Linked DNA regions of Homo sapiens: region 1 is linked to region 2. Evidence: promoter capture Hi-C in 16 types of primary human blood cells and fetal thymus (Javierre and others, 2016). All regions are on one chromosome and are shown on one strand. Each heading gives the region's core, a stretch centred on a gene start or on the middle of the fragment in contact. The rest is flanking DNA. Distances are from core to core; before and after follow the strand shown.

Region 1 (2,700 bases), core at 80-2,579, 540 kb after region 2:
CAAACAGCTGCCTCTGTTACCTTGACTTCTCTCAGATTTTGTCGACCCGAGATGGGTCCTATTGTAAAACTGTGTCTATTATTTTGGCTTGCTCCAGCAAGGGAGAAGCCCACACAAGGCTCCTACTGACCATATGTGTCATTTCTAGCTTTGATGTCTGGGCAACAATTTCCCTAGGTTTAACTATTTGCTCAATGTTAAGGCAGCGCTGTGGAAATTTGTCTGTGTAACTGGGGTGCTATGCAGGCCTGTCTGTGTGACTGTCATGCAGGCCTGCCTATGTGATTGTCAGGGAGAATTGACTTGCCACAATATGATCAAAGTCTTTGGTCATTTAAGTTCAGTTCTGTAGTATTGTCTATAAATATAAGGAAATTATATAGCCTTTCACTAGGTCATGTGTTTGATTTCCTCTTCCTATTTATTTAGTAGTTAGCATGGTTATTGTTTTGTTTCAGTGGTTACTTTTATATTAAATCCTTAACACTACATCCTTGATATGGAATGAAGTCTTACTAATGAATAGAGAAAATAATATTAACAGATAATTCACATTAAAAAACAATTGTATACCCATTAAATTTTCAAAACTATGCCAGATTACAATAACTAAAGGACTGAAAACTAATATCCTAGGCTACCATGCTGAGTGAGAAAGAAAAATTGCTGAAACATACATATAATCTGATAACTTTGGGAAATAATATATATAAATGAGTATTTTGTGTAATACCCCATTCCTGCCTCTTGATAGCTGAATATGACCCTCTAGCAGTGAGTTACCCTTATTGAACCTGACCTTGCTAACCTATAAAATGGGCATAATGACATTTACTTCAGAGAGCCAAGAGGAGGAATGAGCAAACGTAAATAAAGCACATGGTACCTAATACTTCAACAAATATATGTATAATCTCCCTTATGTTCTCCCTCCCACAAGAGATGACTTAAACATCAACATCTCAAAGAGATCAATGGATTTGAACCATCAGAAAAAGAAATGCATACATATTTATATGACGTATAAGCTTTGGTGCTATTTCTTTCTAAGATGAGATACTGAGGATGGTGGAAATAAGGAAGCAAATTATAGCCTCATTACTTTTTATTTGTTGTGTTCTTCTCTTCTTTTTAAACTTCTATTTGGATGCTGAAATAGCAGCTTCCCACTGTGGGCCAGAAAGGAGACAGCACAGAATAACAGAACATGAAGATGGGTCTGCTGTGCAATGGACTGAAATCAGGAGACCTTGGCCCCCAATACCAGATCTGTCCTCGTGTACAGGACCATGGGGAGTCACTTCCCCTGTGTTGGTCTCTGTCCTTACACAGAAAAAGATTGTATACCTAATGGTTAAGGACGTGGGCATTGGCATCAGTAAAGTGAGGAGAAAATTGGGGCACATTTAATTACTGGTTTTATGATGTTTAGGAAATGTTGAGTCTCCAGATAAATGAAACTCATACATTAAATATGACTGCGTAGAGAATAAAACGGGAGGAACTGCACAAAAAAGGATACATTCTTCAAAATTAATGAGCGGTGGGTCGGTACTTAATTCTTTATCTCTTGACTTAACTATGTTTTCCACAATTTCTAAATTAGTATGGTTCTTTTTAAAAGTCAGAAGTAAGCTTCATTGAAACAGTTGTTATGAAATATTTCAGAAATACAAAAATTATAGAATGTAAGAGACATCCCTGTTCTCATGTTGACATACCTAATATTATATATGCAGTTGAAACTCACTTTGAAGACTTCTCTGATTGCAAGCCTCCTTCTTTCTCAGAGGTAACCACTATGCAGAATTCGGGTTTTAGATTTTAAAGACATTTCCCTATACTTTTATTACATATGCATATATCTGTAAGTGAGAATGGTATTGTTTTGTAGCATGTTTTTTCTATAGATGCCTGGCTACCTCATGGAAAAAAAGGAAAAAAAATGAAGAAACATGAGGAGAACAAACACACAATCACATTTCAACAGTGGGAGCTGCATGGCCTCCTTGTCATGTGTACTCTTGCAGACTTACTAAAACAGACATATCCATTTTCTCAGTTTATACGCTATAGGGAGCACAAACAACCTGTAGATACTGTTTTCAAATGCTTTTTCCCAGCGTGTTCAAAGTCTTAGAGTTTCTCTGGAGCTAACTGGCCTAAAACAATGTCTCAGTGTTTCCTGATATGAAACAACTTCCCATTTGTCTGGGCCAAATTATCTGTCTTTCATGCTCACTGTAACCCTTCAAGGCCTAATCCAGAACCTAATCTGGGCTATGCTGGTAAAAGATATGCCAGTCTACCACCCAAATCCCTTATTGGCTTAGGGGTGAATCTTATTTAGAACTTGATCTGATTTTGTGTTAGAATTGTTGGGTTTGTGTATATTTTCCTTCCTTTTCTTCTAATATTTTTAATTGCACAGGGAAGGTATTTCGCAAGTGTTTTAATTCACATGTGCTGATTGTTCCTGCAGTTCTTTGCTGAGTGAGACTGTGACTCAACTTTTACCCCAAACCCAGCTGTGTTAGGATCCTTCCTCTCTGGAAGCTGTGGTGCTGACCCCTGGGTGGTTTCATGCAGTCCCTCCCTCTTTCCCACCCCTGTGGCAGTCACTGCTTGGCTAACTAGGTGGGTAAACAGAGGAGCCTACTCTCCATTCAAGGGGCTTTCTTTGGGAGAGTGCAGAGAGAA
Region 2 (2,700 bases), core at 28-2,527:
TACATGTGAAAAATGTTTCATCCATTACATGCTTACACATCTATCCCTTGGGGCTTGATTTCAATAATTTAAACTCCCTTATATGTGTCTGAGCATTCTCATTCCTTTAACCATCTTTATACCTGTTGTAGTTACAATATTTAAATGCATTTATAACTGAGAAGTGTGTTTCCATTTCCTTGATGTATTTGGTCCCTCATCCTGCCCCCATACACAGACACACACAGAGCCACTTTTACCTTTTTCTTTTGCAAATTAAAAAAAAATTCTTATTCAGTTTTTTCTACATTGAAATTTTGTCAAACGATAGGTGATAAAAGTATATTTAGATAGTTGCATTTGCATTCCTTATATATTAGTGAGCTAGAATGCATTTTCTTATGATTATTGGCCATTTGCATTTCATCATCCATGAACCATTTATATATTTTGTCAGTTTTGCTGTTTTGTTATAGGATCTGTACGTGTGTTAAATCTAAAACCCTTCATTGATCTATGCATGCGTTATTTCAACACATCTTTCTTGGCTGAATATTATTTATGAGACACTCTAGAAAAATCCATATCCTAGATGTTTCTTCTGAGATCTTGGCTCTTATATTTATGGGAGATGTCCCCCTGCAGCAAAAAATGTGTTAGTGCCCATGCAAACATGCGTGGCTTGTCAAGGATCACATGCACAGACAGTTCACACTTACTCCTAAACCCGGCATGGCCACAGAGTAGAAAGGATGTGTGGGGCATTATATAAGGAGAGCACTGGCTCAGGATTGTGATTTCTGTGATCTCTATACTAACGGCAAGATTTTTAAAAATTACGTAACATTTCTGAGTTTGCCTTTTCTCATTTGTAAAATGAAAACAATCATAGCTACCAAAGACAATTGTTCTGAGAAGTAAAAGAACAAATTATTTTAAGCGTCATACACAGCGTAGGGTACATACGGTACTCAACACATCTTAGTCTGCTTCCTATCTCATACCCGTCCTTCCTTTAAAGGAGATTCCTTTGACATAATCCAAAAGGCATGGTTCCATAACGATCACATGAAAGTTTTAAGGGAAATGTATAGGTTTCCATGATGAATTAACTGCTGTGTCACTACTCTGTGCTGGGTAAGAAAAAGGAAAACAATCGCTGAACCGGTTTCCCAGGGTTTGTAAAAGAAAACCATCAAAGCCACCACCTCATTTCACTTTATTTCGTAGACTTCCCCATCCCATTTTTTATGTTCTATGCTAATTTCTCAAGAAAAATAGGCCCGGCACCGCCTCTGCGCACAACCTTGCTGGTCTGGCCCAGGCGGGGGGCGGGGCCAGCACGATGAGCGCCCCGGGCAGCCCCGACCAGGCCTACGACTTCCTGCTCAAGTTCCTGCTGGTGGGCGACAGGGACGTAGGCAAGAGTGAGATCCTGGAGAGCCTGCAGGACGGCACGGCCGAGTCCCCGTACAGTCACCTGGGGGGAATCGACTACAAGACGACCACCATCCTGCTGGACGGCCAGCGGGTGAAGCTGAAGCTCTGGGATACGTCGGGGCAGGGAAGATTTTGTACCATATTCCGCTCCTACTCTCGTGGTGCACAAGGAGTGATCCTGGTCTACGACATTGCAAACCGCTGGTCTTTCGAGGGTATGGATCGATGGATTAAGAAGATTGAGGAACATGCCCCTGGTGTCCCTAAAATCCTGGTGGGGAATCGCCTACATCTGGCATTCAAGAGGCAGGTGCCCAGGGAGCAGGCCCAGGCCTACGCCGAGCGCCTGGGCGTGACCTTCTTTGAGGTCAGCCCTCTGTGCAATTTCAACATCATAGAGTCTTTCACGGAGCTGGCCAGGATAGTGCTGCTGCGGCACAGGTTGAACTGGCTCGGGAGGCCGAGCAAGGTACTGAGCTTGCAAGACCTCTGCTGCCGCACCATCGTGTCCTGCACACCTGTGCATCTGGTGGACAAGCTCCCGCTCCCCATTGCCTTAAGAAGCCACCTCAAGTCCTTCTCCATGGCTAAGGGCCTGAATGCCAGGATGATGCGAGGCCTCTCCTACTCCCTCACCACCAGCTCCACTCACAAAAGGAGCAGCCTCTGCAAAGTGAAGATCGTCTGCCCACCCCAGAGCCCACCCAAAAACTGCACCAGAAACAGCTGCAAAATTTCTTAAGGAAGGCACCAAAAGGAAACAAGCTGGAATCGCTCCAGGAAAAACTCTGAATGGTTACACCTGGAAGAGGGAAGATGCATTCTAGATTCAAAGAAATACGTTTTCAGTTTCTCATGGGAACAATGCTGCTTGGGAATGTGTGTGATGCCTTCTGTCAATAAAAGCACTTTACGCAGTTTGACTTTGAATTTCTACGTGGATGTGCATGTGTTTATAAAGGGGAAATTAGTACTCTGCTTAACTCTTGATAACATGAAATTTTGAATGTTACTTATATCATAATCACACTGCATCTTTTTCCTTAAAATAACCGCTTTTGTAAGAATGGTGATATGACAGTGATGAGTATAAATTCAAGGGAATTTGAGATGCAATGATAGTGAGATCATTCCGAGTCATTGATATTACTAGAGGGGACTTTTTGTAAACCTCCTTTTTGATGTCAAAGCACCAATTTATAAAACACTGCAGATGCATATAGAGATTATACGTAACAGATCTGTCCAGTTTGTGCACGAAATGGATTTGATAAAGTTTTT

The links. The method cuts DNA at HindIII sites, captures the fragments that hold promoters and counts their contacts. A CHiCAGO score of 5 or more calls a contact.
Region 1: a contact is called between a fragment that was not itself captured here and the fragment with the promoter of RAB40AL in region 2, in 1 of 17 cell types (total CD4 T cells). The highest score is 5.3, in total CD4 T cells.

Annotation. Positions count from the first base shown.
Region 1 is chrX:103,478,544-103,481,243 of GRCh38, forward strand. The region is part of intron 4 of LL0XNC01-250H12.3 (a long non-coding RNA gene); the gene reads left to right. Among named protein-coding and RNA genes, the nearest start is that of RAB40A, 40 kb to the right of the region's middle. The HindIII fragment of the contact is 607 bases long and covers 1,027-1,633 here.
Region 2 is chrX:102,935,995-102,938,694 of GRCh38, forward strand. It overlaps RAB40AL (RAB40A like), which reads left to right and starts at 1,278. Exons shown (of 1, transcript NM_001031834.1): 1 at 1,278-2,306. The coding sequence starts at 1,325. The coding sequence ends at 2,161. The region is part of intron 10 of LINC00630 (long intergenic non-protein coding RNA 630); the gene reads left to right. The HindIII fragment of the contact is 15,007 bases long and covers 1-2,700 here.